2 separate regions of the Homo sapiens genome follow, and region 1 is linked to region 2. The links are contacts of gene promoters, found by promoter capture Hi-C in human tissues and cell types (Jung and others, 2019). All regions are on one chromosome and are shown on one strand. The core of a region is centred on a gene start or on the middle of the fragment in contact, and the rest is flanking DNA. Distances in the headings are between cores, read along the strand shown.

Region 1 (6,263 bases), core at 260-2,759, 1.3 Mb before region 2:
AACATTCCAAATAAGCAACACAGCACTGAAGAAGTACATTTGAAAATGAAGACTCCCAAATTATTCTCATCTAGAGATTTGTATTGATATGCAGAAGCTTCAAAAAGCATTTCATTTTTTATTAAGTATTTTATTTTTATTTAAAGACTTTATGAAAAGCAAATAACAAGCTTAAGCAACTGATTGATAAGAAAAATTAAAACTACTAACCTTTTGGCTTAGTTGGTATCCCACCCCAAAGGTGGAAAGAAAGCTATCCTAGATAAGGTGTTTATAAAAGGTAGGCTCACAGGTAGAATAGGCTTGCTTCTTTTATAGATACATCCATCCTGAGGCCTTAAGAATGCTTTCCTGTCCCTAATTGAAGGGCTGCATACTGAACTTAGTAATTTTAGCTAAGAAACAGTATGTAAGTTAAAAAAGAATACCCTACTAAACTAAAATACCCTACTAAAGTAAAATACACCTTTCTGAAATTTAATTGGCTATCTTGAAACTCTTTTGCAAAAGAAATTCACATTTATCAAGGAAATCTCCAATTTTACGGATATCTGCTATTGCATATTCAAAAATCTTACCAGTCTTTTAAATTTACATATTAAGTAATATGTTTCTTTAAGGTGCTTTTCTGGCCATCTTGTCTTAAGCGAGCTTTTACTTGAGCAGTTTTTTTCCCCTTGGTTTGAGCAAATGATGATACAATATTTAGGCCTGAAATCTTAGGTCTGTGCTTACAAAATATAAAATTTTTTGTTCCATCTAAAAGTTTTTCTTTTAGAAATGCAAATTTGTTGCCTAGTTAGCAATTGCTTATGGCAATGAAACAGGTAACTGGAAGACTGATAGACCGAGTGGGGAAAAGAAAAAAAAATATTTAAAAGCTGGTAAATGGAAATCCTTTATGAGAGCTATGAGATCTGCTCCTGTGTGTTTGTATGTCTCTATGTATTATATGTATGTGATAGTTGGTTAATAAAGCTAGTTTTAAAATTATTGGTACAATATAAATGGCTTCAAAATTATTAGTTAATTGTAATTAGATACTTGCTTGATTTGACTGTGAACTTACGTCTTTGGTTTACAGTCGCTGGATTCAGGGTTCTGGATAGGTGGCCATAACGAAATCTGGAGACATGTTCTTAGTGCCTAGACCAGCAGTTATAAGCCAGAATCGAGCCAAATTTAGCCCTTTCTTTCTCTGCTTTTCTGATTTCACCTCCTAGCTATTTTGAGAGGGGTTGTATCCTCCAGATATAGTCTTCACAGCTTCTGTTCTTATAGTCCTGACTTTCATAGTCCTCCTGGGTGCCACGTGGTTACTTGAAACGTACAATGACTGGAGAAAGACATTAGGGAGGCTACCCGTGTCATAGTATCAACATTCTTTTCAGTAATTTAAAATCTTAGAATTATGTTATGTTAAATTAACCTTTTTCCCATTTACCCCAAGTATACTCACCAGTGGTGCTTGTAGCTGGAGCATTTACCCCGAGATAATTTTGCCATGAAATATCTCACTTTTGTTATTATTTTCAAATTTCTCAAGCATATTGACTTTGCAAATAAAAAAATCATTCTATTTATAGCATTCTGTTTTTAGTAGTGGTATTTCCATATACAAAATATAGTAATTCTCAATTGCTGAAAATGTCAAATCCTAGAAAACGTAGCATTACTACATGTAACGTTAACATCATTCTTGCACAGTTGTTAGACAAAGATTAATTTGATGAATCCAATTTTTCCAAAATAGACCATTCTGATGATTCAGATGATTCTGATGTCATCTGTTTAGACAGATCTGTTTAGAAAGAACTCCAAAAACAGTTTTTATATTTTATTGTCATGTTGAAAATCAGTTAGATTTGCTTCAGCTTCAAGGAGCATGTTTTCGTAAAATTAAATGAGCGCTACAAGCAAGCTGTGCTTCTTTTTTCTAAATGGGAAAAAGGTTAAGTAATAAATAATCATAAAATATCTGACTCATCTGTAAGTTAAGATACTGAAATATTAATTATTAAACATGAGTCTAAATCTATGTATTTTGATATTACTTTTATATGGTATAGAAAAGCTAAATATGTATAGACTGTTAATAAACAATAATTTGAAGAACTATTTTTCTAAAAAATTATATTTTTTCCACAAATACTGATATAAAACAGTTCAAAATTGCTTTCTAGGGTTTTCACTACATACTAGGATTACTAAGATTTAAAAACTACTAGATATTAAAGAAACAATTCTGTATACAGAGTCTATAAACAAAAGCAATATATGTTTTTGATGAATAAATTTATTAAAGAACAAAAGTGTGTGTTAAAAACTTTGGTTTGAAGTTATTTAAAGTTTTCAAATGGAAGAAATAAAAAATAAATCAAAATGACTATAGAAAGTCAGGGAAACATGTAAAACAAAAGTCTTATGCAAATTTTGTTTTCAAAAGATGACATATTTGATAAATTTATTTATGAAGTCTTATTAAAATTAGTTTTAGTATTGATACACTAATATGACATTAAAATCTAGTTTTCTGTTTTGAACAAAATTTTCTTTAGTATTAACAAGACACAGTAAAATATTTTTGTCTTTTGAGTAAACTGCAAAAAGACGAAGAAGAAAGAGAGGAAAGAAGTATAGATAGATTCTATTTTATACTGTCTTAAGTCTTCTGACTGGAAAACTGAGTGTCCTTTTTCAAAGCTTATAGGTATTTGCTTTTACAAATATTTTAATTATCACTTTGGTTGAATGAATGACTATTGTTTTATGGTGATTTGTGATACTATTTTGGTCTAATGCTTTAAGCCTTTAACACATTTGAAAGGCTTCCCAAAATCAAATTTCTTCTTCAAAACTAAGTCTTTGTCGACCTCTAACTTCGGGATGTTACAGAGGGCCCATGAAGCATTTAAAAGAGAGGTAAACAGGATTATTTGACATATTAATTTACATGGGGTGCATTGTCAAATATGAAATAATGTTTAACCTTCTTCAGATTATATTTTAATGAAGTTATTAATATACATTCCAAAATTGAATGGGATTTCTAAAATTCTGATATGTTTGAATATGTGCTATCAATCATAATTATGGTTATTATATGAAGTTATTGTAGACCACAGAAATAACCAAATTTCCTTGCCAACTGTGTCTTTAACTGTGACTACTTAAAGTCATTTCCACAGTTAATTGCTTCTCTCTGTTGCAGTTTCTGAAAACTTTGCAAGCACACAAAATCCTAGAATATGGGGTATTTGAGGAAGTCCATTTATGAACGGATGAAAAAGACCCTGAGAAACGCTCTAGAATATGGGTTTTTGATCACATTAGAATTATATTATTTGGACTTTAAGAATTCCTGAAACTTGAATAAAGAGATTAACTGGTTTATAAACTGCTATCACAAGCAAGACAAAAATTAATAGAATACCAGGAAAATACTTTGCCAGATTTTCCTGCTAAATCAGCCAGTACTGAAATTGTTTATATATACAATTTCAATGAACAACAAGATCTCAGTAAAATTACCTATGATAACCCATCAATTATAAGTGCTATGCACCTAAATTGGAGAAACAACTGGCATTCAAAAGGACGTAAGTTCAGTGTTAAGCATGAACTCATGAAGAACCAGGATGACCACCTTGCCCTTCCTGAGTCCTTAAACCTTTTGTTATTAAAAGTTCTGCATTCCATGATTCTTCATGGAAAAGAAAAAAATATCCAAATTAAATATATATATTAGTGTGATAACTTCTAAATTACTAAAAGAGTTTACGATTAGTGTTTTCCTGAGTCATTAAAACTTTTGTTATTAAAAGTTCTGCATTCCACGATTCTTCATGGAAAAGATAAAATTATCCAAATTAAATGTATATATTAGTGTGGTAACTTCTAAATTGCTAAAATAGTTTATGGCCAATGTTTGCTTTGTCAAACACTTATTCCTGGGAAGACAATCAAAACTTTAGGTATATTCGGCTACTTGATGGGCCATTTAAACATTTATAGAGGGATTTCATTCAGTTGTCATGTTTAATTCATGTTTTCTGGTTGTATAAAAGCTTTTCCATGCTAGAGGGCTGATGTTACAACAGTAGATCATTATGCCACAGTATATTATCACCAGATAAAGGAGGCTTTCTCTGGTTCACTGACTGAGGACAATTAACCCCTTCACAATCTAGAACCCCAAGCTTGGATCTTCTGAGAACATCAGAGAAACACTGCCCTTGTTAGCCACACTGCAGTAAAACTTCAGGACCTTGAACCTTGGGTTCATAATCTCACAACTCAGAAGGCTCCCTCCATACTTTTTGAACTGTACACCCATTGGAACCATTAAGGTAAAGCTAACCAGGGAAGTTTCTCCCCAGAAGAAGACAGCATCCTTGATGAGGTCAGCTTTTTCTCAAAATCACAGATCAAGACTTCTCTACTATAATGATACTCTTATCTTTAATTTTTTTTTTCATGGCTTATACCTCTATGAAATATAGAAGTGAAAAGGAGGTCTGTTTTTTCCACTCATGGGTTATACGTATATTTGTGAAGGGTTTTTGCAGCCAGCCTTATACAAGGATAACCTCATCCCTTAATCAATGGAATATGAAGGCCCAATGTAGGTGAGAAATTTTAATGGTACATATAATGCCTCATAGTCTGAAACAGAACATCAGTCCACCCTTCTTAACCTATACCAAGGGTTAAAGAGAACATTGTTGAGAGGTCTTCACTCTTCTAAAAGGGCATCATTTGATCCTTTTTTCTATAGTTTGGATTAAATGAGGTAATGATTAGGAATGTATCCCTCATATTAGGCTGTATAGCAGATTATACTCTAAAGTCTATGGTTACACAACAGACTTCAAATTTTCTTGTGAAAGTTATGCTAAATAATAGAATTGCTCTAGATTACTTACTAGCTAAACAGAGATGTATCTGGCAGCTGCTGGCACTTGTTGTCCATGGAGAAACACATTACATTGGGTATTAGAAAGATTTAGTTGTAGGGCACTGATTAAAAGACTGCTTGATTAAAGCAAGTAGGCTCTTTAGCTAATTCATGGATCTATTTGATTTTAGTTGGTTTATTTTATGGGGACCCTGGAGTATGAGCATACTTCAGACTCTTGGTATTATCTTCCTGGTAGTCACAGTAGTAGTCTCCCTTTGCATGTATCCTCTTGAAAGTTTTAAATGTTTGCACTCAGCCGTCTCTAGAATGTCAGATGTTCTCTCTTCAACTGGAATGGCAAGAGCTGAAAGAAATGTGTGACCATGAGGGAACCATAACCTGTGAATGATATGCTGAAACCAGAAACCCAAAATGATGGTAACTGAGAGTGGCACTAAGACCCTAAATTTTGGTCATACTCTCACCTAAGTGAGAACATGACCGAAACAGGGGAAGTTTTAAACAAAATTACAAGGCCATTGTTTTGGAGTGAGCTCATGCACTAGGCCCCAAAAGATCAGACCAAACCAAAATGGAGTCACTCATACTAAATGTGTCATAATCAAACTAAGACTTTAAGGAAACATGTAGTTCCTAGAAAAGATTAGGTTTTGTTTTTCTCCTGTAAACAACACATTCCAGAATAAGAATGTACTCCCACTCCAACCCTTACAAAAAGAAAATCACCTTACAAATGGTTTTTATCCACAAATATGGGTACAAAACAATTCAAAATTACTTTCTAGCATTTTCACTAGAAATTAAAGTCACTACAAGCTGAAAACTACTAGATATGAGAGAAACAATTCTGTGTACAGACTGTATAAACTAAAGCAAGAAACGCATTTGATGAGGAAAGTGATAAAGGCACAAAAGAGTGTGTTAAAAATTTTGTCACAGTATTGTAGAAGACTTCAACATCTATCAGTAATTGACAAATGCAGCAGGAACATACTCAGTAACGATATAGTTAACTTGAACACCAGCCATCAACTTGATTTAAATGGCATTTATTGAATACGTCATTCAATGAGGGCAGGATACACAAATTTTTCAAGCTCATATGAGATATTCACCAAGATAAGCCAAATTCTAAGCCAAGAAACACACCTCAACACGTTAGAAAAATTGAAATCATACAAAGTATTCTGTCAGATCAGAAAGTAAACAGGAAGTAAATAACAGAGTGAAGAAGTTTAAAAATAATACAGATTGGAAATGAAAAAACCGTCTTTACAGGCAAAGGGCATAATTGCCTATGTAGAAAACTATCTTCAGAGAAACTATTGAAAGTAATAAGAAA
Region 2 (5,694 bases), core at 341-2,840:
CATGCTTGTGTGTTTGTTTTCAGGTATGCAGGCTATATAGATTGGTTAACAAGCATCTTTCACTTAAACAAATAGATAAAGAGCAGGTGTCTTCAGTTCCTTGTCCTCAAACTTAAATGGTGCATTAGCTCTGACTTCATTACTACTGACACAGGATTCCTTAAATCTCTATTCTGTAAACAAATAAACAAACAAAAAATACCCTTTTATCTCTACAGAAAATCCTGTACATGATAAGGATATTTTAAATTCTCTGGTTATTTTCTATACTCATTTTTTAGTTTATATATTTTCTTTGACGTATCCCATTTCAAATTTTCAAGGTTGACACATCATGCCTGTAATCTCTAGGGCTTAAAAGTCAATTTCCGTAAAGTACAACACACAGTCCACTTATTTTACAAACCAAGGGCAGTCAAACCAAGCCATGAAAAGTAATTTTTAGGTAGAAATTAGGCTACTATTCTTCATCAATACAGATGAAGCCTCATTATTGCCAAAGATCTTAATTACTATGATGATGATGATTCAGTAATCTAGATTTAATTTTCAAAGGAATTTCAAAAGGAAACTCTCCACATCTCATCCCACAACTATCCAAATGCAGACTCAAGCCTAAGTAGTATATGTCACATAAACACAAAAAAGGTGGGTGGCAGCGAAGGGGTTTGGGGATGTTTATGTGATCTGACTCTCTGTTGGACCAGTTAATTTTGATCCTTCACCTTCCTAAAGCATCCAAACCTTAGGTGCAGATTTAACTTCTCGCCATCCACGCCATCTAGTGGCTTGTATGTGTTACGTTTGGTTTTAAGGATGATTCCTAATGACTCGGGGGCGGGGTACGCGAAAAACAAAAAGGTTGGTAGCGACAATTTTCCTGTGTCTCTCTACCTCAGTAACCCCTCATACGAACACCTTTAACTCTTTTAACTATTTTAAATATGCGCAGTGATGCGCAGAGAGGATGAAGGGGACGCAAACTTTCAGAGACGCACGCCCCTTGACGATGACATTTAGAAAAGGGCTCCACATCCCTGTTATTCGTAAAGGACGGGAAAAGGAGTTGTGTCAAGACCTCGATCGAGGAGAGTCTCTGATTTTTTGGCAAGTTGGACAGATGGCATATCAATCCCTGCAACGTTAACAATCTGGTTTTGAAAATAAATAAAAACAGAAAGAGGAAATGCACTTAAAAATTCCGCGTCGGAGCTTTGCGGGTCTTGCCTTCCAGTCGCCCCCAGAAGACAACCAATTCCTGCGCATTCCGCTCCGCTCACCCTCCTTCCCAGCTTCTCTCGCTCTCTTTCCCCCCATTTTCCCACGCTCGCCTTGAACCGGGACTCGAGAGGCAGAAGCAAGGCACGGGTCCCCTTTCTCCTCTCCTCCACCAAACCACCGCAGCCCAGCACGTGAAGCTTCCCTTTGTTCATCCGAGGCTCGCTTTTCTCCCCAGCAGATCCACCTGGATGCTCTCCCTCGGTGACATTTTGCGCCGGGGTTGGTGGGTGGCTGGGGTGGAGCGAGAGGAGCCCGAGGGGGCGGGGGCGGAGAAAGGTCAAGCCGAGGGAAAGGCAGGAGACGCCTTTCCTAACCTGCGTGGCGGGGCGTGCGCGCGGTTATTTATTTATTTTCTCCTTATTTATTGATCGCACTAGCAGAGCAGCGCGGGGAGCCCGGGGAGATGCAGGACCACCCACTGGCGGGGAAGCAGCTAGCAGCCCTCCCGCGCCCCCGCGCTGCCGAGCGCCTTCTGCCTCCGCGCTCGGACGAGAGCCCGTGCCGGCCCCGGCCCCGGCCCCACCGCGCCAACGCCGCCCGCCCGGCCGCCCCGCAGCCCCGCCGCCCCGCAGCCCCGCACCGCGCTGGCCAGGCTCCCGCGACAGTGGCCCCGCAGTAAGTTGGCAGGAGCGAGTCCCCTCCGTTCTCGCCTCCCCCGCACCTTTTGAACTTGTTGCTGCTGCTCTGCTCGCCTGCGCCTGGCTTTTGGAAGGTGAAAAGGAGGAGGGAGGCACGGAGGGATGGGGGAAGGGAAAGAAGAGCTCGCTTGAGCTTTATTTATGCTCTCTCGGCGCATCGGATTCGGCTGCTCGCGAGCTGCTTTCTCTCCTCTTCCCTTTCCGGGTGCACGGCGAGGAGAAAGTCTCTATGCAACTAAGCCCCGGCGCGCACTTGGCCAGGTATGTACCGCGGGAGCGGCGCGTTCTGCGCGGAAGCAGATGCTGCTGCCGCCACGGCGGCGGCGGCTGCCAGCTCCTGAGCTCTGTAACTGTCACACTGCACCTGAGCTGAACTTGAAAAGAGAGTGAAGGGGCGATTGGGCGAACGCTTTTGGCAGACACAGAGGGTGTTTGTAGACGTGGGGGAGGAGAATCTCTATTAACGCCCCCCACCGTAACCACTGCACATCACCTCCATCTCTGCAAATACAGCCCGAGGAGTAGAGGCAGCAGCAGCTGGACCCCCAAAGAGAGACGTGGGGCAGCGGCTGTGACCGCATCTCCTGAGCTACAACAACAGGTCGCCTTTTTGAGACTCCTTTGGCGGGAAGGGCTACTTGGAAAGGAAGGTTTGAAAGAGTGAGAAGGGTAGGTGTAAGGGTTCCCTAATTCGTCGAAAGAATTCTATTGGGTGACTCTCGTTCGTCTTCTCTATCCTACACTCCACATACTGACCCTATATTATCCAGACTGTGCCGGGGAGAAATCAAAAACACCTGTTTGAAGAAACGGCTGCACCTGTGTGCTTATTTGTGCCAGAGGGTGGCCTAGCCCACCTGCAGGAAGAGATTTGGCTGGGTTCTGTTGAGGGTGATTGTTAGGACGTTGTATTTTGTTGCCATTATTCCAAATACCTGTCTTGGAGGGAAAGTTGCCCTTCTGAGAACTGTGACTTTACCAGGAGCCCTATCTTGGAATAAGAGTTACACCTCTGGACCACGTTTCTCACTAGTACTTTGCTTGACTGGAGGAAGTGGGTGACTTTTGGCTGCTTCGGTGACCCATTGTAGACGCCTCGTTACCCTTCTTCCTTCCGCTTCAAGTAATCATGGCGGCGGGGGTGGCAGCGTGGCTGCCTTTTGCAAGGGCAGCGGCTATCGGGTGGATGCCTGTGGCCTCGGGGCCTATGCCGGCTCCCCCGAGGCAGGAGAGGAAAAGGACCCAAGATGCTCTCATTGTGCTGAATGTGAGTGGCACCCGCTTCCAGACGTGGCAGGACACCCTGGAACGTTACCCAGACACTCTACTGGGCAGTTCTGAGAGGGACTTTTTCTACCACCCAGAAACTCAGCAGTATTTCTTTGACCGTGACCCAGACATCTTCCGCCACATCCTGAATTTCTACCGCACTGGGAAGCTCCACTATCCTCGCCACGAGTGCATCTCTGCTTACGATGAAGAACTGGCCTTCTTTGGCCTCATCCCGGAAATCATCGGCGACTGCTGTTATGAGGAGTACAAGGATCGCAGGCGAGAGAACGCCGAGCGCCTGCAGGACGACGCGGATACCGACACCGCTGGGGAGAGCGCCTTGCCCACCATGACTGCAAGGCAGAGGGTCTGGAGGGCCTTCGAGAACCCCCACACCAGCACGATGGCCCTGGTGTTCTACTATGTCACGGGGTTTTTCATTGCCGTCTCTGTCATCGCGAATGTGGTGGAAACAGTGCCGTGCGGATCAAGCCCAGGTCACATTAAAGAACTGCCCTGTGGAGAGCGGTATGCTGTGGCCTTCTTCTGCTTGGACACGGCCTGCGTCATGATCTTCACAGTTGAGTATTTGCTTCGCCTGGCTGCAGCGCCTAGTCGTTACCGTTTTGTGCGTAGTGTCATGAGTATCATCGACGTGGTGGCCATCCTGCCTTATTACATTGGGCTGGTGATGACAGACAATGAGGACGTCAGCGGAGCCTTTGTCACACTCCGAGTCTTCCGGGTCTTCAGGATCTTTAAGTTTTCCCGCCACTCTCAAGGCCTGCGCATCCTGGGGTACACACTGAAGAGTTGTGCCTCAGAATTGGGCTTCTTGCTTTTCTCGCTCACCATGGCTATCATCATCTTCGCTACAGTTATGTTCTACGCAGAGAAGGGGTCTTCGGCTAGCAAGTTCACCAGCATCCCTGCAGCCTTCTGGTATACCATCGTCACCATGACAACACTAGGGTAGGTGCCATAATGGGAAATGGGATGGAGGTTGGGTATGGGTGAGGCGATTGTGGACCCATCGAGGTTACATGGTAACTCCGGGGAAATCATTTGTTTTCTTTCCTGAGTTTAGGAAAGCATTATCTAAATGGTTTGGCAAAACTCTTTTCATCTGTGAAATGGGTATAATACACACGTTGAAGTATTAAGGCATTGCTGGCAAATGTTGATGCCTGAAAGTGATAAAGATACAAAGAAATTTTAGAATTCCTGAATATATGAAAGTAGTAGCAATATTTATATTAATATATAAAAATATGACAATGAAAAACAAAATCTATGCCCTAATAAAGACACAAATATATACAATGTATATTGAAATGTCTATAAAGTGGTTCAATGCATTTAAATGAAAAGTTTCCAGGTATACTTGAACTATTATTTTCATATGAATAGATACTTATGGTGTACATTTTTCCTCTAAGAACCATAATTCCTATTTTACATCGTAATACATAGATTGTAGATGTAATTATCAAAGTATTTTATAATATATATGCACATATTCATATGTATGCACTTTAATTATGGTTGATAGGTTATTCAGTCTTTTAGAATATCAGAGCTGAAACTGATCAACTCTACAATATGCAGTGGAATTAAATTTGCAACATATTTCAAGCTCTAGGTTCATAGTTTCAAAAAAAGAAGCAAAAGACTGTCATCCACACATTTTTTTTTAGAATCTACAGATCCCATCAGGCAATGGGTCCACACCCATTAAATACACATAGAAGATAGAGCAGTATCTGGTAAGATTGATGGTCACCAAGGCTGGCTGTATTATAAAATTTGGGGTCCTAATTTCCTTTTAGAATTTTTTTGTGAATTCTTTTTTGGGGGTATAATGAAGTTCTGCAACCAAAGGGACAAATTTCTGAATTCATGCTGTTGTTTTTAATATACTTTTAGGGCTAGAATTAAGTTTTTTTAGGTAGTAGAGAAAAGGAAAGGAGGCAAATGATTAATAATGTTAAACTGCAGAAAAGTAGCAGCATTTTACATATTAGAGAATCTAATAAAATAAAATGGTTAGATCTTTTTACTTTTATGAGTTCTTAGATAAGCTGGGGAGTGATGTGAGTGCCTTTTCTTCAGCTTTGTGCTACTATTCTTGCATAGGTAATCAGTTTAGTGAGGATTTGGTAATGGCTATAAGAAAAAAGTTATTCCCAAGGCTACTCTTTAAGCTTTGTGTTTTTGGATAATTTAATTGGCTTCTTTAAATGACATTGTGGTTAAAGTCAACTTAATTTTATTAGACATATTGTGTTGTACAGAATTTCTCATGTCATGTGGCCAGCTAATGGAATAGTTTATATATGAAGAATTTTAGGCTAGGTTAAACAAGAAATTGGGGTAAAGAAAAATACAATGATTTATGATTTTTATTTAGTCTCATTTTTTTAAAGACCTACTGGTACATTTAAAAAATGAATTAGTGAAAATCCATGTTCTACTTCTTATATTTCCTTTTTATCTTGTTGGC

The links. The method cuts DNA at HindIII sites, captures the fragments that hold promoters and counts their contacts. A contact is called where the count stands out against the background at its distance.
Region 1: a fragment that was not itself captured here is called in contact with the fragment with the promoter of KCND2 in region 2 in 1 of the 25 tissues and cell types used here (mesenchymal stem cells).

The regions. Positions count from the first base shown.
Region 1 is chr7:118,921,780-118,928,042 of GRCh38, forward strand. No RefSeq gene overlaps it. Among named protein-coding and RNA genes, the nearest start is that of ANKRD7, 700 kb to the left of the region's middle. The HindIII fragment of the contact is 3,752 bases long and covers 1-3,385 here.
Region 2 is chr7:120,271,585-120,277,278 of GRCh38, forward strand. It overlaps KCND2 (potassium voltage-gated channel subfamily D member 2), which reads left to right and starts at 1,591. Exons shown (of 6, transcript NM_012281.3): 1 at 1,591-4,163. The coding sequence starts at 3,049. RefSeq lists silencers at 678-777, 1,697-1,846 and an enhancer at 2,287-2,356. The HindIII fragment of the contact is 5,227 bases long and covers 542-5,694 here.